Linked DNA regions of Homo sapiens: regions 2, 3 and 4 are each linked to region 1. Evidence: promoter capture Hi-C in human tissues and cell types (Jung and others, 2019). All regions are on one chromosome and are shown on one strand. Each heading gives the region's core, a stretch centred on a gene start or on the middle of the fragment in contact. The rest is flanking DNA. Distances are from core to core; before and after follow the strand shown. Region 1 holds the start of CCDC87 (coiled-coil domain containing 87). Region 2 overlaps TOP6BL (TOP6B like initiator of meiotic double strand breaks). Region 3 holds the start of BRMS1 (BRMS1 transcriptional repressor and anoikis regulator). Region 4 overlaps TOP6BL (TOP6B like initiator of meiotic double strand breaks).

Region 1 (7,865 bases), core at 5,232-7,731:
AGGTCATGGGTGATCCACAGGACTCCCCATGCCTCTTTCCCCCATTATTTCCACTGTATGTGTTTATTGGCTCTGTCTGAACCTACTCCTTGAGGGCAGAGATTTCTCAGCTTTCCTGATTGCTGCTTCTTCACTGCCTAGCACACTGCCACACCCATAGACAATGTACATCAAATATATGATGGATGAATGAAAAGGAAATGAAATCCCCCACTCAAGGCTGCACTCCAGCCTGAGCAACAGAGCAAGACCCTAGCTCAAAAATATATATATATATATTTGGGGCCAGGCACGGTGGCTCACGCGTGTAATCCAAGCACTTTGGGAGGCAGAGGTGGGCGGACCACGAGGTCAGGAGATCAAGACCATCCTGGCTAACAAAGTGAAACCCCGGCTCTCCCTCTCCCTCTCCCTCTCCCTCTCCCCACGGTCTCCCTCTCTTTCCATGGTCTCCCTCTCATGCGGAGCCGGACTGGACTGTACTGCTGCCATCTCGGCTCACTGCAACCTCCCTGCCTGATTCTCCTGCCTCAGCCTGCCGAGTGCCTGCGATTGCAGGCACGCGCCGCCACGCCTGACTGGTTTTGGTGGAGACGGGGTTTCGCTGTGTTGGCCGGGCCGGTCTCCAGCCCCTAACCGCGAGTGATCCGCCAGCCTCGGCCTCCCGAGGTGCCAGGATTGCAGACGGAGTCTCGTTCACTCAGTGCTCAATGGTGCCCAGGCTGGAGTGCAGTGGCGTGATCTCGGCTCGCTACAACCTACACCTCCCAGCCGCCTGCCTTGGCCTCCTAAAGTGCCGAGATTGCAGCCTCTGCCCGGCCGCCACCCCGTCTGGGAAGTGAGGAGTGTCTCTGCCTGGCCGCCCATCGTCTGGGATGTGAGGAGCCCCTCTGCCTGGCTGCCCAGTCTGGAAAGTGAGGAGCGCCTCTTCCCAGCCGCCATCCCATCTAGGAAGTGAGGAGCGCCTCTTCCCAGCCGCCATCACATCTAGGAAGTGAGGAGCGTCTCTGCCCGGCCGCCCATCGTCTGAGATGTGGGGAGTGCCTCTGCCCCGCGGCCCCATCTGGGATGTGAGGAGCACCTCTGCCCGGCCGCGACCCCGTCTGGGAGGTGAGGAGCGTCTCTGCCCGGCCACCCCGTCTGAGAAGTGAGGAGACCCTCTGCCTGGCAACCACCCCGTCTGAGAAGTGAGGAGCCCCTCCGCCCGGCAGCTGCCCCGTCTGAGAAGTGAGGAGCCTCTCCGCCCGGCAGCCACCCCATCTGGGAAGTGAGGAGCCCCTCCGCCCGGCAGCCACCCCGTCCGGGAGGGAGGTGGGGGGTCAGCCCCCCGCCCGGCCAGCCGCCCCGTCCGGGAGGGAGGTGGGGGGGTCAGCCCCCCGCCCGGCCAGCCGCCCCGTCCGGGAGGTGAGGGGCACCTCTGCCCGGCCGCCCCTACTGGGAAGTGAGGAGCCCCTCAGCCCGGCCAGCCACCCCATCTGGGAGGGAGGTGGGGGGGTCAGCCCCCCGCCCGGCCAGCCGCCCCATCCGGGAGGTGAGGGGGTGCCTCTGCCCGGCCGCCCCTACTGGGAAGTGAGGAGCCCCTCTGCCCGGCCAGTCGCCCCGTCTGGGAGGGAGGTGGGGGGGTCAGCCCCCCGCCCGGCCAGCCGCCCAGTCCGGGAGGGAGGTGGGGGGGTCAGCCCCCCGCCCTGCCAGCCGCCCAGTCCGGGAGGGAGGTGGGGTGGTCAGCCCCCCGCCCGGCCAGCCACCCCGTCCGGGAGGGAGGTGGGGGGGTCAGCCCCCCGCCCGGCCAGCCGCCCCGTCCGGGAGGTGAGGGGCGCCTCTGCCCGGCCGCCCCTACTGGGAAGTGAGGAGCCCCTCTGCCCGGCCAGCCGCCCCGTCCGGGAGGGAGGTGGGGGGTCAGCCCCCCGCCCAGCCAGCCGCGCCATCCGGGAGGTGAGGGGCGCCTCTGCCCGGCCGCCCCTACTGGGAAGTGAGGAGCCCCTCTGCCCGGCCACCACCCCGTCTGGGAGGTGTACCCAACAGCTCATTGAGAACGGGCCAGGATGACAATGGCAGCTTTGTGGAATAGAAAGGCGGGAAAGGTGGGGAAAAGATTGAGAAATCGGATGGTTGCCGTGTCTGTGTAGAAAGAAGTAGACATGGGAGACTTTTCATTTTGTTCTGCACTAAGAAAAATTCTTCTGCCTTGGGATCCTGTTGATCTGTGACCTTACCCCCAACCCTGTGCTCTCTGAAACATGTGCTGTGTCCACTCAGGGTTAAATGGATTAAGGGCGGTGCAAGATGTGCTTTGTTAAACAGATGCTTGAAGGCAGCATGCTCGTTAAGAGTCATCACCAATCCCTAATCTCAAGTAATCAGGGACACAAACACTGCGGAAGGCCGCAGGGTCCTCTGCCTAGGAAAACCAGAGACCTTTGTTCACTTGTTTATCTGCTGACCTTCCCTCCACTGTTGTCCCATGACCCTGCCAAATCCCCCTCTGTGAGAAACACCCAAGAATTATCAATAAAAAAATAAATTAAAAAACAAAGTGAAACCCCGTCTCTACTAAAAATAAAAAAAAATTAGCTGACCGTGATGGTGGGCACCTGTAGTCCCAGCTATTCAGGAGGCTGAGGCAGGAGAATGGCATGAACCCAGGAGGCGGAACTTGCAGTGAGCCGAGATTGCGCCACTGTACTCCAGCCTGGGCGACAGAGCGAGACTCCCTCTCAAAAGAAAAAATATATATATATACACACATATATATATACACACACACATATATATGTGTGTGTATGTGTGTGTGTATATATATATATTTGTTTTTTTTTTAAGAAACTCAAAAAATTAGCCAGGTGCAGTGGTGAGCAGCTGTAGTCCCAGCTACTTAGGAGGCTGAGGCAGGAGGATTGCTTGAGCCCAAGAGTTCAAGCTGCAGTGAGCTATGATCAGGCCACTGCACTCCAGCTTGGGCAACAGAGCAAGACCCCATCTCTAAAATTGAAAAAAAAAAAAAAATCCAGGTGCTGTAGCTCATACCTGTAATCCCAGCACTTTTGGAGGTTGAGGCAGGTGGATCGCCTGAGCTCAGGAGTTTGAGACCAGCCTGGCCAACGTGGTGAAACCCTATCTCTACTAAAAATACAAAAATGAGCCATGCGTGGTGGCAGGCGCCTGTAATCCCAGCTACTCAGGAGGCCGAGGCAGGAGAATCGCTTGAACCAGGGAGGCAGAGGTTGCAGTGAGCTGAGATTGTACCACTGCATTCTAGCCTGGGCAACAGAGTGAGACTCTGTCTCAAAAAATAAATAAATACATAAATAAAAATTAAATTAAATTTAAAAATTGTAACACTTATCCCCACAGCACGAAACAGACATTGGAGGTGGGTATGGGAAGGCTTACTTTTCAGTACACATCCTGGTATACTTTGTACCATGTGCACGTAACTGGTAAAAATTTAATTAATTTTCTTCTTCCTAATAGTGTTTGAGAACTAAAAGAGGTGACAATTTAATGTAGTGTGATAGGAATGCTAAAGTGAGTTGTTCCAAAGATCACCTTTGCCTCTGACCCTTCCCACTACAATTAACTCCAAGGTCTCAGTTCTTTTGATATAGGAGATTTGGCTTGTATTGTGCAAGGCTTGACATAATGGGACTACTAGGCTTGGGGATTCTTTCATGAGAATTTCACTAAGAAAACAATAGTTTTAGTCTCAATCCCTTCATAGTTGGAAGCATAATGTTCCTGAACCCTCCACTCCCAGATATAGACAAATATTTCTTCTTCCAAAGCAGTAAAGAGGTCTAGATGAGCTGCTGGCCATTTAGGGGTGAGGGAGGCATTTGAGGGCACTGGGCCTGGTCAAGGAGTAATAGGGGTATTCCCAGGAGCTACTAAAGGCTGGCTGCTGAGCTCCTGAACAGGGTTGACTGGTGGGGATCCTTCAGGGCCGAGACCAGGTGGCGAACCCGCCGCTGCTGTTGCAGCCAATAGAGCATCTCCACTTTGTCACTCTTCATCTTGTCCAGGTAGGGCCGCCCCTTGAAGATCACTGGCTCGCCAAAGATTAACTCTATCTCCTCCAGGAGGGAAACCAAAGAAGACTCCATTAAGTTGAGCTTCCTGTGGAGATGGCTTCGGACCTGATTCTCCTCCAGGAAGTGACTGGAGCTCAAGTTGGTCTTTTTGAAGAAGCGGTTGGGATTGGAAGCTTGTCCCTCAAACCACTCTAGTCTCGCCAGCAATGCCTCCCGCAGCTGAATGGGCTTCAGGGCCCGCTCCCAGGCATTCACCAATGAAGGCAGCTGCCTCAGGCGGGCTTTGGAGCTATATTTAATGGTCATGTCCACCTGGTCCTTGTCAGGGACCTCAAGCACAGACCACAGTTGTTCCAGATGCTTCTGCAGGCTCAGAATTTTGTGGGGTTCTCCCAGGTGGGGTGTCTTCCCAGCTCCTAGCCTGTGCTCTAGCACAGTGTTCCAATCCCACTCTCCTGGCACAAAGTCTGGTTCTTCATCTTCTAGCAATGGGGGAGGGTGCTGAATCTCTAGGGACTCTCTGGCAGGGGCCACAATCTCCACAGGAACCTCTTCTTCATGCATTTGAAAGATGACATGAAGGAAATCTGTTTCATGGTTGGTGAGGTACTTGAAGTAGTCATCCACAGACAAGGTGGTTTTCCATGAGTTCATCAAGGAGGCCTTGTTTGACCACTTCTCCCAGCTTTTGGTAGCTTGGAGTGATGGGAGGGAGGGCATCTTCTTAGTATTGGACTGTAAAGTGTTTGCTCTCTGGGAGTAAAGTCCAACCAGCTCAGGGTTGATGATTTGAGGCTGTTTTTCTTGACGTAGAAAGGCTGAGGACAGGAAGGTCGACCAGTCTTTATCTGCTGCAGGCTCAACTAGGGGCCCTTGATCAAAATGTAAGTGGTCAGAAGAGACATGGCTCATCAACTCCTTGTAGACCTCCCTGGTAGTACTGCCAACAAAGTTATCAATATCCATTTTTTCAATGGCTTTGGGATCCAGTTCACCAGCCAGATGGTTATACAGGGCTCCGGCCCCCTCAATGTGGAAAGAGTCTAAGAAGTTTCTATCAGAGACCCGTACGGCAGCCGCCTGGACCACGACCTCATTTCTAAGCTTCAAAGTAATGGTCACTGGCTGTGGGTGAAGTGGAAAGGATTTGGGGGGCTGGGGGTCCCACTGCCCAGAGGCTTCTTCCTCCTGGAGGTTCCTCAACATCTTCTCCAGCTCCTCCAGGCGATGCCCTGCAGCTGGGTGACGGGTCACAACCCCCAGGAGAGGAGGCAGGCCTGAGTCCAGTGGTGGGTAGCGAGTCCCCTCCAACTTCATCTTCTTTATCAACTGCTTCAGATCCTCAGCCACGATGAGCCCAGTCAGCTCTGGTTTGCTCTCTGTAGCCAAGACCAGCGGGGTTAAGGGGCGAGATGGGAGTGGAGGAAGGCCCAACTCATCTGCCAGCCTCCAGCCCTCACGCAGGGAGGGCATGGATTGGCCTCTCCGGAGCTCAGGGCAGAAAGGCGAGGGGGAAGCCCTGCTGGTGGGGGCCACAGGATAGCTGGGCAGCGACACCATCTGTGAGGAACTGATGTCGATTTCTCTCTTCTTTCCTATGGAGGGCAGCCAGTGGAAAGGCTTTTTCCTCTTCAACCGAGGGATGGACTTCAATTCCTTCACTGGATCCATCCTTCCTGGCTCATTGAGAAACTCTGGTGGACGGCTGAGTTGGATGAGGTAGTTCAGGTTGAGGTTAGAGCACTGCACTTGGGCGAAGCCAGTGCTGTGAGGCCAGGGGATAGGGCACAGCTTGAACGTCCCAGCGGGGCAGACAGGGTGCAGCTTGTCCACATCCCCAGAGGCCTGCTCTGCCCTCAGCAGGGCCTGGAAGTCGGCAAGCAGGCCACGGTAGACGTTGGGACTAGTAAGGAAGAGTGTGCAGTCCCTGGCGAGGCTGGCGGCCAACCGGGTGAGGGTGGCTGATTCAGTGAAGACCCCCCTGGGAGTCGACATGGTCACCAGCAGGTGCAGGTAGCGCAAGAAGAGCTGCTCGCTGCTCAGCAGCACGTAGGCCTCGAGCCGCTTCCGCAGCTTCTGGTTGTTTTTGTGGCTCAGACTAAGTTCGGCGGGCGGCTCCCGCCAGCTGCACTTCAGCTCGTCCAGGATGACCTTGATGAGACGTAGTCGGGCCTCAGGAGGCACTCCCGCTGCTATCCCGCTGCCGGCCAGCAGCTTGGCCACCTGGCTGCACAGCGACGCCACCGTCAGCTTCGCCAGAGGGAAGGACTGCAGAATCCGGCCCTCCTGCGGGGGGCGCTTCTGAGGCTCTGGGGACGTCGTCCTAGTGGGGAAGAGCGACAGCGGACGCAGCAGCCGGTGGTAAAACCGCTGGAGCTCAGGCTCGGGCTTCGGGGGCTCCATCATAGAGCCGGCGGCCGCCACCGTCCAGGAACAGAAAGCCGAGGGGTTACTAAGGCAACCAGGAGCCCGACGGCCCGAGTGCGCCTGCGCGGCCGCCACCCGGTGGCTGACGAAGCAGGGCCTTGCGTGCGCACGCACTAGGAGGAGGAGTTAAGGGTGGCTTTAGAGGCTCAGTCCCCGCGACGCCGCGCTGGTTGGTGCTCCTGCGCCGGAGGAGTTCTGCGTCTCGGGGTGGTGACTGGGTCCAGAATGGCTTCGGATTCGGGGAACCAGGGGACCCTCTGCACGGTGAGGGTCGAGGCTTCGTGTGGAGCCTCGCCGGGCAGAGAGCCTCGGCCCCTGGGATGATCGTTACCTTGGGAAGAGGAGAAGGAGTGGGCACTTGGGTTGGGGCCTGGGGCCATGGGATGAAACTAGGGTGCGAGGGTAGCAGGGGCCCTGCGTGAGTGTTGGGGGGTGACTCCCATGGTCCTGGAATGGTCATGAGAGATCATGAAGAAGGTGCTTGAAGAGGGGTTAAGTGGGGCTTGTTCCCAGACCCTTGCGGTGGTCATAGGGTAGGTGGTGAAACAAAGTCATACCAAGGCACTTCCCCAGCGATCATCGGTTGGTCCCTGCCGCCCTTGCAGTTGGAGTTCGCGGTGCAGATGACCTGTCAGAGCTGTGTGGACGCGGTGCGCAAATCCCTGCAAGGGGTGGCAGGTAAGAACAGGGTAAACTTTTCTGCAGACAGTCCAGAAGCCTCTGGGAGGGACCAGGCGAATCTATTAGGCGAACCCTACTCCCATTTTACAGATGCAGAAAGTGAACCCCAGAGAGTGAAAGGCATGTTCTCAGAGTTACACACAGACCTGGAGGCAGAGCCTAGAGTACAGCTGTCCAGCTTGCCCTGACAGATTCTAACTGCCTGTCTTGTTGTCCTGAACCTCAGGTGCCCCAGAGACTGAGGAGCTAGGCTGAGGGAGTTCCTGGGAAAACAGGCAGTTTTTGCTTGGGAAACAACATAATCTTGACAAAGCAAACAGCAGCTCAGGCCCTATACCATCCTGGGTAGCTTTCTATACCACTGGGTGTGGTGGCTCATGCCTGTAATCCCAGCACTTTGGGAGGCCGAGGTGGGTGGATCACCAGGTCAGGAGATCGAGACCATCCTGGCTAACACAGTTAAATCCTGTCTCTACTAAAAAATACAAAAAATTAGCCGGGCGTGGTGGTGGGCGCCTGTAGTCCCAGCTACTTGGGAGGCAGAGGCAGGAGAATGGCGTGAACCCGGGAGGCGGAGCTTGCAGTTAGCCGAGATCGCGCCACTGCACTCTAGCCTGGGCAACAGAGTGAGACTCCGTCTCAAAAAAATAATAATAATAAATAAAAGGCCAGCTGGTCTGGAGGTGACCTGGCACAATGAGAAAGATCTGGAAAGGTAGAGCCACCAGC
Region 2 (7,046 bases), core at 3,559-6,058, 160 kb after region 1:
AGTACTTTGTGGGCAGCATTTCATGTTAGCATAAGGGATCTATTTCATTTTTTTTGTAAAAAAATGTACACTTATTTAGTTTTAGTTTTTGTCAGTTACACACACATATGGTTTTGGCTGGGTGTAGTGGCTCATGCCTGTAACACCAGCACTTTGGGAGTCTGAGGTGGGCAGATCACATGAGGTCAGGGGTTCGAGATCAGCTGTCCAAAATGGAGAAACCCTGTCTCTACTAAAAATATAAAAATTAGCGGGTTGTGGTGGCACACACCTGTAATCCCAGCTACTCGGGAGGCTGAGGCATGAGAATCACTTGAACCTGGGAGGACAGAGGTTGCAGTGAGCCAAGATCGCACCACTGCACTCCAGCCTGGGTGACAGAGTGAGACTCCATCTCAAAACAAACAAACAAAAAACCCGACAGTACCCTGCGTGCTTCCCCCATCTCTCCCTTCCCATCTTTCTCCCTCCTAGAGGCTAATACTTTTAACTCTGTTAATTGATTATTTAATATTTATCTTTGATCTAAGTAACATGTTTGTGTTGTTGTATCTTTTTTTTTTCCCCCAAATATGGTCTCACTCTGTCACCCAGGCTGGAGTGCAGTGGCACAATCATAGCTCACTGTAACCTTAAATGCCTGGGCTCAAATGATCCTCCTAACTCAGCCTCCTGAGTAGCTAGGACTACAGGCATGTGCTACCATGCCTGGTTGTTTTATTTTTGTATTTTTCTAGAGACAGGGTCTCTTGCTATGTTGCCCAGGCTGGTCTGAAACCCCTGGGCTCAAGCAGTCCTCTCACTTTGGCCTCCCAAAGTGCTGGGATTGCAGGTGTTAGCCACCACGCCTGGCCAAGATGTTATTTATTTATTTATTAATTTAGAGACAGGGTCTTACTCTGTCACCCAGGCTGGACTGCAGTGGTGCAATCACTGCTCACTGCAGCCTTGACCCCCTGAGCTCAGGTGATCCTCCCACCTCAGCCTCCTGAGTAGCTGGGACTACAGGCATGTGCTACCATGCCTGACTAATTTTTGTTTTGTTTTGTTTTTGTTTTTTGAGGCAGAGTCTCACTCTGTCACCAGGTTGGAGTGCAGTGGCGCCAGGATCTCGGCTGGCTGCAACCTCTGCCTCCCAGATTCAAGCGATTCTCCTTTCTCAGCCTCCCAAGTAGCTAGGACCACAGGTGTGCACCACCACGCCCAGCTAATTTTTGTATTTTTAGTAGAGACCAGGTTTCACTACGTTGGCCAGGATGGTCTCGATCTCTTGACCTCGTGATCCACCCACCTCAGCCTCCCAAAGTGTTGGGATTATAGGCGTGAGCCACCGTGCCTGGCTGACTAATTTTTTTTTTTTTTTTTTTATAGAGATGAGGTCTCCCTATGTTGCCCAGGCTGGTCTTGAAGTCCTGGACTCAAGCGATCCACCTGCCTCAGCCTCCCAAACTGCTCGAATTATAAGCATGAGCCATTGTGCTCAGCCCTAAATTGTTATATCTTAATTTTCCTTTTTATAGGCATTTATTGATTTTCCACCATAGAGGATGATGGCTCTCTTTAATATCTTCACCTCTACCATGTGTCTTTCTTTTAATATAGTTATAATTTTCCAACCACGTAGATCAATATTTACTCATCATGACCATAAAATGCAGTTTAGCCATATAGAAAACTATGATTACTTTTCTTTATAATTTCCCTTCAGTTAATACTTATTTTATTTTCTGTTTTTATCATCTAGTCAACTCGCAAACTTCCAGCATTTGTCTAAATCTACTCAATATATTCCAGTACATCAGATAATATATCAGTTTCATCCTCCTGAAAAACTCTTTTCCAGTGTATCCTGACCTGCTCTAATTTTGACTTGATGCTTTCTGTATCTGGTGCACAGCTGTTACCTTGGAATCTTCCCTTCATCATTATTCAGAGTGTTTCTGTAGTTTTTCTCTTGCATTGGATTTTGTGCTTCCTGAATCCCTCTCTCTCTTTTTTTTTTTTTTTTTACTTGGCTTACTCCTTGCTTTGATGGATCTCAGGCTCCAGTAGCTTCCTTGGAAAGAGTGTTTGGAAGGTAAATTTCTTGAGACCTTACATCTCTGAAAACATCTCCACGTATACCTAATTGATAGTTTGGCCATATAGGATTCTAAGCCAGAATTCATTTTTCCTTCAGAATTTTGATGACATTGCAGCATTATTTTCTAACTTAAGGTGTTGCTATTGAAAAATCTAAAAATCTTTCTGATTACTCTGTATGTGACCTGTTTTTTCTTTTTTCTTCCCCTCTGTGTAAGCTTTCATTTTTATTTTTTTGAGATGGAGTTTCACTCTGTCACCCAGGGTGGAGTGTAGTGGCATGATCTCGACTTACTGCAACCTCCGCCTCCCGGGTTCAAGTGATTCTCCTGCCTCAGCCTCCTGAGTAGCTGGGATTACAGGCGTTACACCACCATGCCTGGCTAATTTTTGTATTTTTCATAGAGATAGGGTTTCATCATGTTGGCTCGGCTGGTCTCGAACTCCTGACCTCAAGCGATCCACCCACCTCAGCCTCCCAAAGTGCTGCGATTACAAGCATGAGCCACCGTTCCCGGCCTCTCTGTAAGCTTTTAGAATCTTCTCTTTATCCTTGTATTAATTACAGTAAATAAGGGTAGGTGCTATAACAAACCCTAAAATCTCAGTGGCTTGGCCAGGCGCGGTGGCTCACGCCTATAATGCTAGCACTTTGGGAGGGTGAGGCCAGCGGATTGCCTGAGCTCAGGAGTTTGAGACCAGCCTGGGCGACACGGTGAAACCCCATCTCTACTAAAATACAAAAAATTAGCCAGGTGTGGCAGTATGCGGCTGTAGTCCTAGCTACTCCAGAGGCTGAGGCAGGAGAATTGCTTGAACCTGGGAGGCGGAGGTTGCAGTGAGCCAAGATCACACCACTGCATTCCAGCCTGGGTGACAGAGTGAGACTCCGTCTCCAAAAAAAAATATATATATATCAGTGGCTTAACACATAAAATGTTTAGTTTTCTTGTATTTCACAGTCAGATGAATGTGTGTGTATGCAGGCAAGCAGGCAAGTATTTTGTTTTATGCTATCTCTGTCTTGCGGGTGTATCCTTCTCTAAGTCCTCTAAGTTCTCTCCAGCTAAGGATGGGGAAAGAGAGCAGAGCTTATAAATGGAAGACTTTTATGGGGTAGGCTCGGGAATTGGTATGTTACTGCTGCTCACGTTCTATTGGCCAGGACTTAGTCTTTTTTTTTTTTTTTTTTGAGACAGAGTCTCACTCTGTCACCCAGGCTGGAGTGCAGTGGCATGATCTCTGCTCACTGCAAGCTCCACCCCCTGGGTTCACGCCATTCTCCTGCCTCAGCCTCCCGAGTAGCTGGGACTATAGGTGCCTGCCACCACGCCCGGCTAATTTTTTGTATTTTTAGTAGAGACGGGTTTTCACCGTGTTAGCCAGGATGGTCTCTATCTCCTGACCTCGTGATCCACCTGCCTTGGCCTCCCAAAGTGCTGGCATTACAGGCGTGAGCCACCGCGCCCGGCCATGTTTTTATGTTTTTTAAGACAGAGTCTCATTCTGTTGCCCAGGCTGGAATGCAGTGGCATGATCTCGGCTCACTGCAACCTCCACCTCCCAGGTTCAAGTGATTCTCCTGCCTCAGCCTCCTCAGTAGCTGGGATTACAGGTGTCTGCCACCACACCCAGCTAATTTTTATATTTTTAGTAGAGACAGAGTTTCACCATGTTGGCTAGGCTGGTCTCGAACTCCTGACATCAGGTGATACGCCCAGCTCAGCCTCCCAAAGTGCTGGGATTACAGGCATGAGCCACCACGCCTGGCCAACCAGGACTTAGTCTTATTGCCACAGCCCTGCAGTTGCAAGGAAGACTGAAAAACGTAGTCAGATTATGTGTTCAGGAAGAAGGAGAATGGGGTATTTGTTTGCGAGCACCAGCAGTCTCTGCTGTGGTCTCCATTGTCACAATGATGCACCTGGGTGTGGGTGTGTTTTCAAACATTGTGCTCAGCACTCAGCAAGACTTTTAAACCTGGAAACCCTTGTTCTTTGGTTCTGGGAGATTTTCCCTTGCATTCTCTCTTTTCTTTCCCCCCTTTCTGCAACTTCTATTATTTAGATATTAGACTTCCTAGACTGGTTCTTTTTCCTTTTTAAAATCGTTTCTCTCATAATTTTTATCTCTTCTACTTTCTAGGCATTATCTTTTTGAGTATATAAAGATTTTTTTAAAGTTTTCTTTTCTCCACCTCGTTCTTGTTTCCCTTGTATTGCTTTTCTTAGTCTGGTGTCTGTTTTCATGTTAGAAGCTTTCTTCAAATATCTTAAAATTACTGGTTGCTCATTTTTAAGAGTTAGAGACTATAAAGCTGATTTGAAATTTTAGCATCACTAAAAGGTGATCTAATTGGGCTTTTAACTGGGGAACTTTCTCTTCTCTTCAATATCAATATCTTTAGGTCTTTGCTCTTGGAATGACCAGATCTTTCAGTCTCTTACCAAGTGGGTAAAAGCCAGACTTGATTCTGGGAATGAGAGAGAAAAGGGGGTATTGGGTATCTCAGCATTCAGGGGTTCTGTTCACTAACTCCACTTGTTTTTAGTACAATTTTGATTCTCGTCCCAAAGATTGACACCTTGACCATTTTCAAGTATCTTCTCCCCAATCCACACCAAAGTTAGGGAGGAGCCAGTCCCTTGAATGCTGAGTGGAGGAGGGAATCTAAAGATTTATTTAAATTCATTTTTCAACAGACTCTCCTTAATTTATCTTCTACCTCACCCATACATTCAGAGGTTCCTGATACTGCCATGCCTGAGTGTTTTGCAATTTTATTATATAAATCAGGTTGTTTCTTGGCCTTCCCTGTCCCCTTATACTTAGATTACTCAGGTCTCCTAAATCCTTTCCTACTAGTCGTTCTGCTTTGTAGTTTCTAGATTTTTTTTTTTTTTTTGATATAGAGTCTCACTCTGTTGCCCAGGCTGGAGGTGCAGTGGTGTGATATCAGCTCACTTCAACCTCCGCCTCCTGGGTTCAAGAGGTTCTCCTGCCTCAGCCTCCTGAGTAGCTGGGCCTACAGGTGTGTGCCACCATGCCTGGCTAATTTTTGTATTTTTAGTAGAAACGGGGTTTCACTATGTTGGCCAGGCTGGTGTCGAACTCCTAACCTCAGGTGATCCACCTGCCTTGGTCTCCCAAAGTGCTGGGATTACAGGCATGAGCCACTGTGCCTAGCCTGTAGTGTCTAGATTTTTATTACAATCATGTTTGTCTCTTGTTTTCCATCCTTGTGGGTTTGTGCCCTTATAAATCTCTTTTCTATTATTTTATTGAGGTTTCAGGAGGGAATGAAAATAAACGTGTGTGTTCAATCGGCTGTCTTTACCTGGAAGTGTGCAGTGGTATCTTTTAAATTTGGTTTGAAATCTCTGCTCTCTAGGGCTGCTGTAACAAAGTACCACAAACTGGATGGCTTGAAACAAAATATATTTATTTTCTCACAGTTCTGGAGGCTAGAAGTCCAAAATCAAGGTCTTGGTATGGTTGGTTTGCTCTGGAGACTCAGAAATCTGTTCCATGCCTCTCTCCTAGCTTCTGGTGATTGCTGACAATCCTTGGTATTTCTTAGATTGTAGGTGTATCACTCCCTGCCTTCACATGGCATTCTCCTCTGTATTTCTCTCTTTCTTCACATGGCCTTCTTATAAGTACACCAGTCAATGGACTCAGGAACACCCTAATCCAGTATGACCTTGTCTTAACTTGCTGGCATCTATTTCCAAATAAGGTCATATACACTGGGGCTAGTACTTAAAACTATCTTTTGGGGGACATAGTTCAACCCACAACAGACTAGCAAATTTGATATCTGAGATGATTCATCTATCAGAAGCCAAGAGATAATTAGTTTTTTCCATCAGTAATTATTGAAGGCTTTAACAAATATGATTTTCATGATGTTTCCCAAAATGTATGCCACAGAATATTTATATGAGTTATAAGAAAGGAGTTATGTAGTCATTTAAATTTGGGAAATGTTAGTTAAAATAAGTTTTTAAACTATAGGTCTGTTCAGGACCTCTCATGTGCCAGTGTGGACTATGAAACATACTGTTTGGGAAATGCTACATACAGTTAACCCCCTTTTCCCCCCTTTTTTTTTTCTCAGGATGGAGTCTCACTCTGTTACCCAGGCCGGAGTGCAGTGGCGCAGTCTCGGCTCACTGCAACCTCCACCTCCCAGGTTCAAGTGATTCTCATGCCTCAGTCCCCCGAGTAGCTGGGATTACAGATGCCCACCACCATGCCTGGCTAATTATGGGTGAGGAGTGCTTCCACCTGCTCCACATCCTATCCAGCCCTCAATTTTCAGTTATATTTCCAATGCTTTTATATAAAAACGATAAAATTCTATCCTCCAGATGCAAAGATGACAGTAGAGACTTATCTGTAAAATACATATTTTAAAGCAAGCATTCCCCCAAATCCCCTCTATAGAACAGAAGATTATCTTTTTAAAACAATGTAAACAAAATTTTTTTCTGAGATGGGGTCTTGCTCTGTGTTGCCAAGGGTGGAGTGCAGTGGTGCCATCACGGCTCACTACAACCTCTGTTTCCTGGGCTCAGCTGATCTTCCCACCTCAGCCTCCTGAATAGCTGGACTACAGGTGTGTGCCATCATGACCTGCTAATTTTTGTATTTTTTGTGGAGATGGGGTTTTGTGATATTACCCAGGCTGGTCTTGAATTCCTGAGCTCAAAATATCTACCCACCTCAGCCTCCCAAAGTGCTGGGATTACAGGTGTGAACCACCATGCCTGGCCATAAGATGGTCTTTATAAAGGGCGGAGGCGGCGGTGGGGGGTGGGGGCGGGTGCAGGCACTGTGGCTCATACCTGTAATCCCAGCACTTTGGGAGGCTGAGGCGGGTGGATTGCTTGAGGTCAGGAGTTCGAGACCAGCCCGCCCAACATAGTGAAACTTCGTCTCTACTAAAAATACAAAAATTA
Region 3 (7,753 bases), core at 3,899-6,398, 250 kb before region 1:
CCATGCAACAGCCATGGTTCTTACCATCCGATTTTCTCTTCTGAGGGGACACAGCTGCCCTAGCCTGGGTGGGTGAGAAGAAAAGCTCCCCTGAGAGCCCACCTCCAGCTTGGCAATCCCTGCCCCACCCCCCACCTCTGTGGCTTGTGGGCTGTTGCCTCAGTGCTGTGCCCCCAGGACCGGGAGCATAGGCCCCACCCAGGCAGAGCTCCCATGCTCCTGACTGCTGGCCAGCTCAGCGGCTCTCCCGCCTCCCCGCCACCCTCCCACCCCATCAAAACCTGCCCCAGAACGGGAAGGGGCTGACACAGACTAGAAATCCCTTTTCCCAGGGCCGCCTTGAGCAAGAGGACTTGTGAGCCAACTGCGATCCAGGGACTCTGGGCTGAAGATGGGGAAGCCTTGGTGAGCAGAGAACTCCCAGGCCTGCAGATGGCAGAGCTGCTGCCAGGGTGGGGGGCCCTGAGGTGGGGCAGGTCACGTGGGCAGCAGCGGCCCCCACCTTTTTGATGGCTGTCCAGTCCTCCAGGATGTCGATCTCTTGAAGCATGTACACGATGTATGGGCCTGTGGTGGGGGTCAAGGAAGCCTAGTGGAGGTGGCAGGTGACGAGGGCAGGGCCACCCACCTGACATTCAGGAGTGGGGGTACAGCGGACAGCATGGAGTGGGAGCTGAGGACCTGGGTCCGAGGTCAGGTTCCACCTCCTACCTCTTAACCCCCTGGTTCCAGGGGTCGTCCTGGAACCAAGTCTATGGAGGACACCAAATGTTGTTCCCTGTCCCTTGCTCACCCTCACCTCGTCTTAGGTCAGCTGGCTGAGGCCCATCCCATCTCACTCTGCAGCACTGGCCCTAACCTGGCCCCTTCCCTGATCCAAAGACAGACGCAGGGCTTATCCCTTCAGAGACAACTCTCCCTCCCCCAGTGCTCCCTACTTGATGTCTCCATGCCTTCACCTTCCATTCACTCAAGTCATGGCCTTCCAGATTCCTCCCTCCCTGCCTGGGCCTGCTCTCCAGCACCAGGTTGCCATAATGACTAAGACTGGCTGCTGCAGGAATACCCTCAGGGGTGCAGGAGGACTCAGCTCTGCCAGGACAGATGAAAGCACAGCAGGCCCTGGACTAAGCTTAAGCTAGCCCTGCCTAGGAAGGGGTGGAGGCAGCCAGTGCCCTCTGGGATGTGGGTACCCCATGGTAGGGCACAGAAGCACACAGGAAAGTGAAGCCATAGGCACCAGGGTAAGACCAGAAGAGGCCTCACAGAGGAGGTAACGTTTGAGATGAGCCCTGGACAGTCGGGACAGGCAGGACTTCCAAGAGGAGGGTGGGATATGAGCAAAGGCTCCCCAGGGAAAGCTGGGGACCCGCTCGGACAACCCCGGGAGATGGAAAGGCCTCAAAGGCCAAACCTCACTCAGGCTCAAGTGCAGTGGCACCATCACGGCTCACTGCAGCCTTGATCTCTCAGGCTCAAGCAATCCTCTTACCTCAGCCTTCAGAGTAGCTGGGACTATAGGTGCACACCACCACGCCTGGCTAATTTTTGTTATTTTTTCTAGAGATGGGTTTCACCATGTTGCCCAAGCTGGTCTCGAAAAGAACTCCTGGGCCCGAGCAATCTACCCGCCTTGGCCTCCCAAAGTGCTGGGACTGTAGATGTGAGCCACGGAGCCCAGCCCGTTTCTGTTTTCCTAGGGTTCACATAGCCCAGAGAGACCCAGGACCCCGTAAGAAACTGCTGACAGCTGGATTTGCCTGGACATATTCACATGACACCAAGCAACCACGAGTGCATCTAGTGTGACTGTCCTCCATGTCCCCTCCAACCCCCTCCCCTGGGTCTGGAGTTGACCCTTACATCCTGCCCACTTTTAGGCCACCTTGGGTGAAAGGATACCAGAAACCAGAGGTGCCTTCTTCCTCTTGCTGGGCGGCAGGGAGTCCCAAGACCTGGAGCTGCCTCTGGCGTGCAGTTTGTCATCCCACCATTCTGCCCCGAGACCCAGAGTTAGAATTGGGGTGCTGGCCCACAGGATACTCCCTTTTCTGTAGCCTCTGCCTCCACCATGGGCCGGCCTGGCCTCATCTCCCCTGTCCCATCACCACCCTGGGCTTGGGGTAGAAGCCCCTTAGGGCTGTTCAGGTCCTGCCTGCACAGCTGCACAACCCTGGGAAGAGGTCACTGCACTTCTGTGAGCCTCATCTGTTTAGTGGAGAGTGGGATGACGACAATTCCTGCCACCCCAGGACTCCACGTGAACACAGGTACTATGAACATGGAGGGGACTAGAGCTATTGCATGTGACTGCATGTCACACTGATACCTGTTTTGGAAAGAGCAGGGGCAGAAGAGGCAGGGAGACCCACTCTGCTTGAGCCCCCATTATGTGCCAGGCCCTTTCCAGGCCTGGTCTCCTTCAGCCCTCACACTGACCCCAACAGGCAGGTCCTCTGGCTGTCCCCTTGACTTCAGGACATCTGAAGCCCAAAGAGGGGTGGGCGTGGACTGAGCGGGGCCCAGTTCCGGGGTGCCCAGGCTCTCGCGCTTACCAGAGCTGAGGTCCAGGCTCTGGCGGTCCTCCTCCAGCCTCTGGATCCGCTCCTGCAGCTCCCCCTGCAGCGTGTCATAGAGCAGCAGCTTCTCACTCTGGAAGAGGGGGCAATAGCTCAGCAGGACGGATGGGGTGAGGCCACTTCAGGCTTTGTGCCCTGCCTCACCCCCAGTGTGCCCAATCAGGCCCACCTCCAGGTGCTGTTTGGCTCCCTGCAGCTCACATTCGTACTTATTCCTGATCACATCCAGACAGAAGCCCTTGTAGATCCCTGCAGAGAAAGGGAGGAGGGTCCCTGCTTGGCTGGGGAGCCCGGTGCCCACATAGGAGGGCTGAGAGCAAAGGGCAAGGCCGGGCAGGAACGAGAGAGGAAGGGGACAGGGTGCCACGGGTTCTGGGAGGGGAAGAGGGTACAGAACCACCCACAGACCTGCCACCTGAATGCGAATCTTGAGGCTCCGCTGCAGCCCCCCAAGGGGCTCCGTGTATTCAGGGGCTCTCTCAGCCCCCACTTCCTCCAGCCGCAACCGCAGCTGACTCAGTCGTTCCCTGAACAACCTGCGTGGTAAAAAGGCAGCCGTGCACCCATTTGCTCACCCATCGCTCTTGGGCAAACACATACCCAGCACCCATTCCACAGCAAGCCCGGTGTTAGGCGCGCACTTCCTGGGCACCAACCACGCCTGCCCAGTACCAGGCCCACCACCTCCTCATCCCAGATCCTCGCAGACCCAGCCCAAGGTGTCCCCACGCTCACTTCTCCTTTAGCTCCGAGAACTGCTTCTCTAGGTCCAGCATCTCACTGACACACTCGCTGCGGCGTCGCTCATAGTCCTCATCATCCATCTCTGGGACAAGAGGCCAGTAAGGGCTAGCTCTGGGGAGGAGTGGTGGGTACCCGCATGTGTGCATGTGCGTCCTGCATGTGTGTGTGTGCATGCATGCCTGTGTGTAGGGCCTGTGTGTGTGTGCGCGTACATGCTTGTGTGAAGGGGCTGTGTGTGTGCGTGTGTGCTTGTGTGTAGGGGCTGTGTGTGCATATGCGTGCGTGCTTGTGTGAAGGGGCTGTGTGCACGTGTACTTGTGTGAAGGGGCTGTGTGTGTGCATACGTGCTTGTGTGTAGGGGCTGTGTGTGCGTGCTTGTGTGTAGGGGCTGTGTGTGCGTGTGTGCGCTTGTGTGCAGGGTCTGTGTATGTGCTTGTGTGTAGGCGCTGTATGTGCATGTGCGTGCATGCTTGTGTGTAGGGGCTGTGTGTGTGCATGTGTGTGTGTAGGGGCTCTGTGTGTGTGTGTGTGTGTCTGTGTGTGTAGGGGCTCACCGGAGCTCTCCTCTTCTGACTCTGTCTGGCTGCCGCTCCGCTCCTCCTCACTCTCTTCCTCCTCCCCATTCATCTCAGCAGCAGAATCACCCTCTGCTTCCATCTCTTCTGTGTCTTTGCTTGGAGGCTGGACAGGCATCTGGACTCTGGGAGAAGGAATGGAGCTATCACTTATGGCTGCCCACAGCTCAGAGGGGGAAAGAGGCAGCAGGATGCTGAACACAACTCGATCCCAGATGGGGAAAGCCAGGGAAGTAACTGGCCTGGCCACACCTTGAGCACAAACTGGGTGACAAGGGTGCAAATGGCCATCTGCACCTCTCACAGAAGGCTGGGAGCTGTGGAACTGCTCCTGCTCTTGGATGTCACTGGTGATCCTAATCCTAGCAATACTGGCCAAGGCTGTGATCCACAGAAAGGAAAGGCCCAGGGGGCACTCTCCACTGCCTTTGCAACTGGACCTAAATTTCTTTTCTTCTTATTATTTTTTGAGACAGAGTCTCGCTCTGTTGACAAGCTGGAGTGCAGTGGCACGATCTCAGCTCACTGCAACCTCCTCCTCCTGGGTTCAAGCGATTCTCCTGCCTCAGCCTCCTGAGTAGTGAGATTACAGGCGCCCGCACCACACCCAAACTGGACCTAAATTTCTAACTGGGGCTTTCAAGGTCTTTCCCAGACTGGACTTGACCTACCGGTCCAGCTCCTTCATCCCAACATATAATGGCTAGTGCTTGCACTTCCACTATCCACCCTCTGCCTCAGCTGTTCCTTCTGCCTATAATGTCCTCGGCTTCTCTTCCAGATAATGTTACAATCTCCTTGTCTTTCATTGTGCTCTGGGTCAAATCCCATCTCCTTCTGCTTCCTCTTGGACCGCAGGTCATCAGTGCTCCCCTCTCTTTTCTGTGTCTTCAGCTTCTAACTCTTAGCAACCTCCTTCCCATGAAACTTTGGATGTGCTTGGGTACTTCCTAGCATTAACAAAACACAGAAACACAAAACCTCACCCATTCCACCTAACTGCTCCATTTGCCACTTCACAGTTACACTTTTCAAGGTCTCATGAACACTGGCTGTTCCTACTTTCACCTCCCACTTGTTCGATGTCCTCAATCTCAGCTGAAACTGATCCCGTAGCATTAACCAATGACTTCCTTGTGGCTAATGCCAATATTTTTCAGTGCTTATTTTAATTGTCTGCTCGGCAACATCCAACACTGGTAAGCATTCCTTCTTTTACTGACTCATCTAACATGTATTGAACATCTAACATATGCTAGGTACCGTCAGACGCTATGGTATGCAGGCGCCCAAGTGTGAATGTCTTTGACCTCACGGAGTTTACAAGTTCCTGGGAGACAGGGGCAAAGGAGCACACTATAACCATGATAGGAGGAGAGTTAAGACCAGGGGCATAAGGGAGGGGTATATAACCAGGACCTGGAGCCCGATGCAGCAGGGAGGCTTCCAGACAAAGATGGACCAGCTGGGTGAGCTGCACTTATTGAGGGAACATTCCAGGTAGAGTCAGTAGCAAAGACCCAGAAATAAGAGAAGGAAAGCAGCTGGGGGAACATGGGTCTAAGTCTCAGTGAGAAATCTGAGCTGCAGGGATTTGGTCGTCAGCATACAGCAAGTTCTTCATGCCACAGGAGAAGGTGCAACCAGCAAGGCACAATGTGTGCGATCAGAAGACGCCCAGGGTCACCAAAGGGGCAGATGAGGAGACCCCTACAAAGGAGGAGGCAAAACCCGAAGTGGTGGAGAAAGAGTTTTAGAAGAAAGCCAAGTACTGCCAAGGAGTAATTGCACTGATAGTGCCAAGTACTGCCAAGAGATCACCTAAGAAGAAGAAAACAGTCCTCTCAGCAGATAATCTCTCAACCTCCTGCAGGCTTCTATTTTATTGTGTTCTTCCAACTTCTCTGGACACTGCTTTGTAGTCCTTTAGAACAGTGCAGACACCACTCCCTCCAGGAAGCTTTGTTTATATCTATTTGCCTGTTCTCATATCTGTCCCCGCAATCAGTCTATGAGCCTCACTAGGGCAGGGGCTGCACATGTAACTTATTTACCTAGCACAGTGCTGGTTCACTTGATGACTGGAGGATTTGCAAATACAAATTTAACAAAAAAATTTTTTGTGAGACAGACATTAGTTTTTACTTTTCGGTAGTCCCAGGTCCCTGTAATGGTAGCAAGCTTTCCTTGACACCAGTTCAAGTTGTGTATAGTAAGCCTGGCCTAGGTGAGTGTTTAGTCATATTCCTCAACAATTTCACTAATGACCTGCACCTGACTTGAAAGGCTCGGTTCTCTAAACCAGCTTCATCTTCCCGTTATCAAGCCTCAGTTCCCAACATTTGCAATGCCTCTTCACTGTTAGTATATTCACTTTGTAAGATGCAGCTTAAGTCTATCTCTTCCAGAAGCCTTTCTTTCCTCCCCCTGGTTCTGATTATGAGTGAGTTAAGTCACAACCTTCCCACCTTACCCCGGGTGCAAAAAGCGGATAACCATTCCTGCTCTGAGTGTTGAGGAGCTCACAGGTGGTAAGGGATGGAAAAGCACACTGTAAAGCGCTGTACACAGGCAATTTATCTTTTCAGAATGGCAGCTCCTCCGGGGCAGGCCCCTAGGGAAGGCAGACCCTCCCCACTCTCGCAGAGGTCAATCCAGCTTCTCCGCAGCGCCCAGGGGGCCTCCCGCTCCCTTCTAGATGCGCCGGAGCGGGCCGGAATATCACTGGCTCGCCCGCAGCCCAGCACGCGTCAGGCCGGTTAAATCTCTGCTTCGGCCTCGGAGGAGGAGGTTGTGCCGGCCCTGCTCGACTAACCGGAGAGGGCGAACCAAAAGCCATGCATGACGATACGCACCGCGGGGACTGGAGCCTCTGGCCTCACGACGGAGATTCCCTGAGAGCTGCCCGTGGTTGCCGGTACCGGCTGCTGCCGCCGGACTCCCGTAGGCGCTGCGCGGCTCCCTTTTCTTCGGGAGGCAGAGCCTATCGGTGCTTCCGTGTGCGTCATCAGGAGGCGACCGTCGGGGATGCTCACAGTTGGACAGTTTGGTCCCGAGGCATGCTGGGATACCGCGGGCCGGTCTCCATAGTAACTGGCCGACATTCGCGCAGGCCTTCGGCCTGCAGGGAAGGCCCTGATGGTTCAGTGCTTTGCAGACGGTGCCCTTCGTCCGCGGCCATCTCCCCACGGCGTGCAAGGGGAGAAGCCGGCCCCGATCCCCCCACCCCCAGCTCAGGAGAGTAACGGAGCCAGCTGTGGGTGTGAACACGCATTTATTTACACATTGTCATCGGTAGGCACATACCCAGCCCAGCCCGTTGAAGGGACAGATCTCAGGCTGTCACCCATGGAACCTGCAGACCCTTCCCTCCTCCAGAACCCTTGAAGGCGAAGCCCTGAGAGAACCAGGAATTTTAGGCTTCTGTTCAAGAGCTAAGAACTAAATTTTATGCCTTCATCTGATTTCTTTCCAAAAAGTCCATTTCATTAAGTATTCAGACTTCTTAGCTCCATCCCATTCATACTTTTTGCTCTCCTACTACCCACCCAAGATTGTTAATAATAACAATAATAATAACAACAATAATACTGCGATAATATTAATACTTCACATTTGTACGAAGCTTACAGAATGTTTTCACATATAGCATCTCATCTGAGCCTCCCAACAGTTCCGTGAGGTAGGTATTCTCACCTCCCTTTTTACAGACAGGGTAACCGAGGCTCAGAGAGGTAACGGGATTTACTCAAGGCCACACAGCTAGTTAGTGGTAAAGCTAGGAATCGATCCCAGCACCCCATATCCAAGTCCAGTGTTTCAACACCACAGCTACCTCTGTAAAGTGGAGCGACA
Region 4 (6,726 bases), core at 1,980-4,479, 210 kb after region 1:
ATTTATTCCAACAAAACTGATATGGCAGGTTGTGTGGTTGTACATATGCTAGAGGTTACAAAAATAATTTTGAATGCTCTTTTAAATAATTTCTTAAGAGGAAAAAATGTTAAATTTGACTTGTCTGTTTTCTGACAGTAGACCAAATTTTGGTACAATTGAATCACACTGCAGCAGAATTCACCCTGTGCTAGGACATCCAGTAATGCTTTTCATCCCTGAAGACGTGGCTGGCATGGACTTGTTGGGAGAACTGATACTGACTCCAGCAGCTGCACTGTGCCCCAGCCCAAAGGTTTCTTCCAACCAGCTTAACAGGATTTCTTCAGTTTCCATATCCTTTTGATGAAAAGTTCCATCCAATTATCTTTGAAATGGGTTTTTATATCCCAGTTTTAGGAAAGCCTTTAGTATGTGAATTCTGCATCTACAAATATATATGATTTGTATAAAAACATATAATCTAATGTGAAAGCCAAGCTTGAAAATTTTGCCAGGGAACTGAAAACTGTAAAATGTGACACATGCCATGCGTTTTTCATACAATCCAATATGACTGAAGCATGAAATGAATGGTGCACGAGGAAGAGATGGGACTAGAAAAGTAGTCTGGAGTTGAATATGGTAGATCTTGAGTGCCATACTAAGGATTGTGAATTTTATTCTCTGTATAGTAAGAAACCATTGAATGTTTTGGGAGAAGTCTTTAGCAGCATTATAGAGTACGGATGGGAGACAGAAGTTAGTAATACTAAGTAAATAAGTAAGTGAACTGGATTAAAAATAATGAGTGCTTGACGGCTGGGTGCAGTGGCTTACACCTGTAATCCCAGCACTTTGGCAGGCCGAGGTGGGCGGATCACTTGAGGTCAGGGGTTTGAGACCAGCCTGGCCAATATGGTGAAACCCTGTCTACTAAAAATACAAAAATTAGGCCGGGCGTGGTGGCTCACACCTGTAATCCCAGCACTTTGGGAGGCTGAGGCGGATGGATCACAAGGTCAGGACTTGGAGACCAGCCTGGCCAACATGGTGAAACCCCATCTTAGTAAATACAAAAATTAGCTGGGCATGGTGGCAGGCGCCTGTAATCCCAGCTACTCAGGAGGCTGAGGCAGGATAATCACTTGAACCTGGGAGGCAAAGGTTGCAGTGAGCCGAGATCGCAGCCACTGCACTCCAGCGTGGGCAACAGAGTGAGATTCCGTCTCAAAAAAATAAATTAATTAAAGCCAGGCGTGGTGGTGTACGCCTATAGTCCCATCTACTTGGGAGGCTGAGGCAGGAGAATCACTTGAACCTGGGAGGTGGAGGCTGCAGTGAGCCAAGAACACGACACTGCACTCTAGCCTCGGTGACAGAGCAAGACTCTGCCTCAGAAAAAATAAAAATAAAATAACAATAATAATGAGTGCTTGAATCTAAAGTGTGGTAGGCACGGAAAGGCCAGACTTATCACCTGAATTAATCAACAAAATGTGGTAACCAGTTCATTATTAAGGTAGGGAGAGATTAGGGGCAGGGAATGTCTAAGGTTGATGTCAGATTTCTATTCTATGTCTGTCTAGAATAGGCAAATACAGAGAGAAAGTTGATGGAGGGGCTTTTTTGTTTTTTTTTTTGGAGACAAGGTCTGGCTCTGTTGCACAGGCCAGAGTGCGGTGACACAATCTCAGCTCACTGCAACCTCTGCTTCCCGGACTCAAACCATCCTCCCACCTCAGCCTCCTAGAGACCACAGGTGCATGCCACCATGCCCAGTTAATTTTTGCATTTTTGGTAGAGACAGAGTTTCACCATGTTGCCCAGGCTGGTCTCAAACTCCTGGACTCAAGCGATCCACCAGGCTCGGCCTCCCAAAGTTTTGGGATTACAGGCATAAGCCACTGTGCTCGGCCTGGAGGGGCTTCTTTTCAGAGTAATGAAAGTGTTCTAAAATTGATGGTGGTAGTGACTGCACAACTCTTTGAATATTCTAAAATCCATTTTATTACACATTTAAAATGAGTGAATTGTATGGTATGTGAATTGTATCTCAATAAAGCTATTTAAAAATATTTCCATGAATAACTGACAGAATAATGATACTTTCAGCAAGATAAAAAAACATTAATAGCAGATTTAGGAGATAAAGAAGATGAGTTTGACATTAAACATGTTGAGTTTATGGTGTCTCAAGACATCCTTTGAACATAGTAAGGAGCTATATAGGAATTTGGTCTGGAACTTGGAAATGGTCAGATTTAGAGATACAGAATTTTAGAGTCTCAGTTTCCTCCATAGGTAAGAGTCGTGTAGTGCTGTGTTTAGAGCATGGCACAGGAGTGTAAATGTTGGATTCACTACTAATTAGCTGTGTGACTGTAGGCAACTCACTTAACCAGCCTAAGCCTTTACTTCCTCTGCTTTAAAATGAGGATGATACTTATCTCATAGGTTTAGTTTCCCTTGCAAAAATTGGTTTTCTGTTCTTTTGGGGTTTGTTTGCTCGTTTTAGAATTAAGTATAATAATCCATGTGAAGCTCCTAGCATATAATGAGTACTCAATAATATTAATAATTGTTATTGTCATATGATTGAAGCTATAGGAGTAAATGAAGTTATAGAAAATTATAAACAATGAGAACAGGCCGGACACGGTGGCTCATGCCTGTAATCCCAGCACTTTGGGAGGCCGAAGCTGGCGGAGCACTTGAGGTCAGGAGTTTGAGACCAGCATGGCCAACATGGCAAAACCCTGTCTCTATTAAAAATACAAAAATTAGCTGGACATGGTGGCACATGACTGTAGTCCCAGCTACTCGGGAGACTGAGACAGGAGAATTACTTGAACCCAGGAGGCAGAGGTTGCAGTGAGCACTGCATTCCAGCCTGGGCGACAGAGCAAGACTCTGTCTCAAAATAAAAAAAAAGAGAGAACAGAAGAGGCGTGGTATGATAGATGTCAGCTATCTGATGTTGCATATCAGATATCAAAAGATACCATAGTATCTTTTAGGGAGGTGGAGGGAGCAGGATAGTGATGAAGACTATGCTTGGACATTTTCTATTTTAAAACATGCTTTTTCTTTATATCTAGATAGTACAGAACAGTATAGAATAAATAAGTTTCTTCTTCTTCCTCATTCCATCATCTAGAAGGGATAAGACAGACAAATTTTTTGTCCTCTTGGGGAAAATTTAACAGATAGATATTAGGTAGTGATAAGTGCAGTGGAGATAAATAGAACAAAGTAGTAGAGAATGATGGAGATGTTATTTTAAATATGGGCAGTGAAGCCTCTAAGGAGGTGATGTTTTAAAAAAGAGAGAGAGCTAGCTATGAAAATTCTGTTGAGATTTTACTTTCTGAAAGTGGCAAACTTGATAATTTAGACCAACCTTCTCAATGAAGGCAAAGGCTAGATGAAATATTAAAACATCATAAAAGCAGGCCGGGTGTGGTGGCTCACGCCTGTAATCCCAGCACTTTGGGAGGCCAAGGTGGATGGATCACCTGAGGTCAGGAGTTCGAGACCAGCCTGACCAACATGGAGAAACCCTGTCTCTATTAAAAATACAAAATTAACCAGGCATGGTTGTGCATGCCTGTAATCCCAGCTACTCAGGAGGCTGAGGCAGGAGAATCTCTTGAACCTGGGAGGCGGTGGTTGCGGTGAGCCGAGATCGCGCCATTGCACTCCAGCCTGGGCAACAAGAGTGAGACTCCATCTCAAAAAACAAACAAACAAACAAAAAAATCATAAAAGCATCAAAGAGCTAGTGAAGAGGAAGAGTTTCTGTGCCATGATTTAGGAGAGGTTTGAATTACAGAGAGCTGAGCCTAGCATTGGGGGATGCTTTTGCCCTGGAGCAGTTTGCCAATTAGAGCAAGCAGTTGAGAGGCTAAGATGTATTAATACTTCCAAATCAGTGCAGGACAAGAAGGCCAAAGAATCCAGGACCTGCTGAGCTTGGGAGTGCTGCTAAAAACACCTCTTGCCTTGGGCAAGGGATAACTAGAAGGCTATATTTTAAGGAGTAAGGTGAACCTGAAATAAATTACTCTTCACATGGACTGTATATGCTTTTTGGTCATCTAGGCAGGCCAGAAAATCTTGAACTTTGAAATTGGATTAGGATGATTTTAGATTTGTTAGTTCTAGATGTTTTATAGAAGCAAACAAAAATTTCTAGAGGAAAATAACTGCATCCTGTGCTCCCAATTATTTAACACTTTTTCAAATACAGTGTCCCATGGTGCATATGCACACACACATGCACAGTCACAAATAACCAGGTGTAAGAAAGGACAAGATAATATGAACAAGAGCTAGCAAAAACAAAATCACAGAAACACCCACTGGGACTCCAGATACTGGTGATATCAGATATTGACTTTAAAAAGTTATGCTTAGCTGGGTGTGGTGGTTCACACCTATAATCTCAGCACTTTGGGAGGCTGAGGCAGGAGGATTGCTTGAGCCTGCAAGTTCGAGATCAGCCTGGGAAACACAGTGAGACCCCCATCTCTATACAAGTTACCTGTGCATGTGTGGTGCATGCCTGTGGTGCCACCTACTCAGGAGGCTGAAGTGGGAAGATTGCTTGAGCACAGGAGGTCAGGACTGCAGTGAGCCATGATCGTGCCATTGCCCTTCAGCCTGGGTGACGTGAGACCAGTTTCAAAAAAAAAAAAATGAAAAATTATGCTTACTATGTTGATGAAAATGAAAGCAAAGTTTGAAAATTTTACTAGAAAACTGAAACTGTAAAATATGAAATACCTTTTAACAAGAACAAAACAGAAATTGTAGAATCAAGAAATATAATAACCAATGTTGAATAAAATTCAGTACACTGGTTTAACAGCAGATTAAGTACAACTTAAGTGAATTTGTAAACTAAAAGCTAAAGATAGCAAGAACTTAGCAAAAATAAAACAAAGAGACAAGTTATGGAAAATACAGAAGAGAGGGGTTAACAGAGTAAAGAGTAAAACTGTCTAATGTATATTTAATTGATGTCCAAAAAGAGAAGAGAGAAGAGAAAATAGGGCAGAAACAATATTTAAAGAGTTAATGGCTGAAACAACTGAGACAGATTTGTGTGTGTGTGTGCGTGTGTGTGACGGAGTCTCGCTCCGTCGCCCAGGCTGGAGTGCAGTGGCTCGATCTGGCTCACTGCAAGCTCCGCCTCCCGGGTTCATGCCATTCTCCTGCCTCAGCCTCCCAAGTAGCTGGGACTACAGGCACCCGCCACCACGCCAGGCTAATTTTTTGTATTTTTAGTAGAGACGGGGTTTCACCGTGTTAGCCAGGATGGCTGAGACAGATTTAAGAACAGAATAATCAAGCAGTATAAATAAAAAAGATTTCTACACCTAAAGAGATGAAAAACAGAGAAGAATCTTAAAATCAGTCAGGAGGACAAATCATCTTTAAAAGATAAATTAACAGTTGACTTCCCCATACCAACAGAAGGTGTTAGACTAATAGTGTTAATGTCTTGAAATAAAATCATTACCAACCTAGAATTTCATATCCAATCCAAATATTCCTCAACATAAAAGGTAATAAACTTACCTGTATATTATGTTAAAATTATAATCCACGTAACAAGAAGAATTAATTCAACAGACTTTAGAACATGGTGTTTTGACTATACGTTCTTAGCAGGATATACTCTAAGGATGAAATGGAAGTCCAAAGACCTCTTAAAATTTATTCAGTGGCATGATTGTTAGTAATAATATTGGTATTTTATATTGGAATTATTGTATGCATACTTATGATAAATAATTATGTTAACAATGTTAGGAACCAAAGTTTTTAGCATCAGATAGAAGATATGTGAGTGTAAATTCAGAGAAATAACTATTTTTTTTAAAGGGATCTCACTCTGTTGCCCAGGCTAAAGTGCAGTTGTGCGATCATAGCTCACTGCAACCTCGAACTTCTGGGGTTAAGCAGTCCTCCTACCTCAGCCTCTCCTGAGTAGCTGGGACTACAAGCATGCACCATCATGCCTGGCTAATTTTTTTATTTTTATTTTTTGTAGAGACAGGGTCTCACCCCCGAGTTTCCAAATTTAATGAAAACTATAAACCTGCAGATTCATGATCAATGAACCCTAAGTGTAAGAAATATGAAGAAAATTATACCAAGTCACATCATAATCAAAGTATTTGAAGCCAGTAATAAAAAAATCTTAAAAGCAGCTGGAGATAAGACACATTATGTATAGAGGAACAAAATAATTATGGCAGATTTCTCACTGGAAACAGTGTTAGCTAGAAGAAAGTGGGGTAACATCTTTATAAAGTACTGAGAGAAAAAAGGCAAAATGAAGAATTTTTCAGACATAGAAAAGGTGAAAGAATTTATCACCAGAAGACCTGTATTATAAGAAATGTTAACAGAAATCTTTTAGGTAGAAGAAAAATGTTGCCAGACGGAATTCTGAATCTACCCAAAAAAGGAAGAGCACTGGAAGTGGTGGCTATGCGGGTAGATACAAAATACTTTTGTCCTTTTAAAAACACAAAATATCCTTCTTGAGTATATAAACCAAAAAGCATCCAAGACAGGTTTCAATCAGTTTAGAAGTTTATTTTGCCAAGGTTAAGGATGTTCCTGGGAGACAGGTCTGTGCCTTTCTCTAAAGATGGTTTTGAGGTCTTCAGTATTTAAAGGGGAAACGCAGGCTGGAGAGGAAAGATGGAGGGGATGATCACATTATTGAAT

Evidence for each region. The method cuts DNA at HindIII sites, captures the fragments that hold promoters and counts their contacts. A contact is called where the count stands out against the background at its distance.
Region 2: a fragment that was not itself captured here is called in contact with the fragment with the promoter of CCDC87 in region 1 in 1 of the 25 tissues and cell types used here (hippocampus).
Region 3: a fragment that was not itself captured here is called in contact with the fragment with the promoter of CCDC87 in region 1 in 2 of the 25 tissues and cell types used here (dorsolateral prefrontal cortex and pancreas).
Region 4: a fragment that was not itself captured here is called in contact with the fragment with the promoter of CCDC87 in region 1 in 1 of the 25 tissues and cell types used here (IMR-90 fibroblasts).

The regions. Positions count from the first base shown.
Region 1 is chr11:66,586,582-66,594,446 of GRCh38, forward strand. It overlaps CCDC87 (coiled-coil domain containing 87), which reads right to left and starts at 6,482. Exons shown (of 1, transcript NM_018219.3): 1 at 3,595-6,482. The coding sequence starts at 6,434. The coding sequence ends at 3,885. CCS (copper chaperone for superoxide dismutase) reads left to right here and starts at 6,604. Exons shown (of 8, transcript NM_005125.2): 1 at 6,604-6,719; 2 at 7,061-7,133. The coding sequence starts at 6,681. RefSeq lists enhancers at 5,268-5,857, 5,858-6,446, 6,009-6,068, 6,239-6,348, 6,379-6,468. The HindIII fragment of the contact is 7,748 bases long and covers 4,667-7,865 here.
Region 2 is chr11:66,750,151-66,757,196 of GRCh38, forward strand. The region is part of intron 1 of TOP6BL (TOP6B like initiator of meiotic double strand breaks); the gene reads left to right. Among named protein-coding and RNA genes, the nearest start is that of TOP6BL, 8.9 kb to the left of the region's middle. The HindIII fragment of the contact is 4,704 bases long and covers 2,457-7,046 here.
Region 3 is chr11:66,338,219-66,345,971 of GRCh38, forward strand. BRMS1 (BRMS1 transcriptional repressor and anoikis regulator) reads right to left here and starts at 6,886. Exons shown (of 10, transcript NM_015399.4): 1 at 6,754-6,886; 2 at 3,878-4,023; 3 at 3,315-3,405; 4 at 2,988-3,115; 5 at 2,749-2,828; 6 at 2,556-2,652; 7 at 1,903-1,995; 8 at 503-567; 9 at 25-64. The coding sequence starts at 4,016. It overlaps B4GAT1 (beta-1,4-glucuronyltransferase 1), which reads right to left. Exons shown (of 2, transcript NM_006876.3): 2 at 7,156-7,753. RefSeq lists enhancers at 6,626-7,176, 6,632-7,061. The HindIII fragment of the contact is 3,306 bases long and covers 3,496-6,801 here.
Region 4 is chr11:66,803,857-66,810,582 of GRCh38, forward strand. TOP6BL (TOP6B like initiator of meiotic double strand breaks) reads left to right here. Exons shown (of 15, transcript NM_001302084.2): 7 at 139-334. Among named protein-coding and RNA genes, the nearest start is that of RCE1, 36 kb to the right of the region's middle. The HindIII fragment of the contact is 9,286 bases long and covers 1-6,726 here.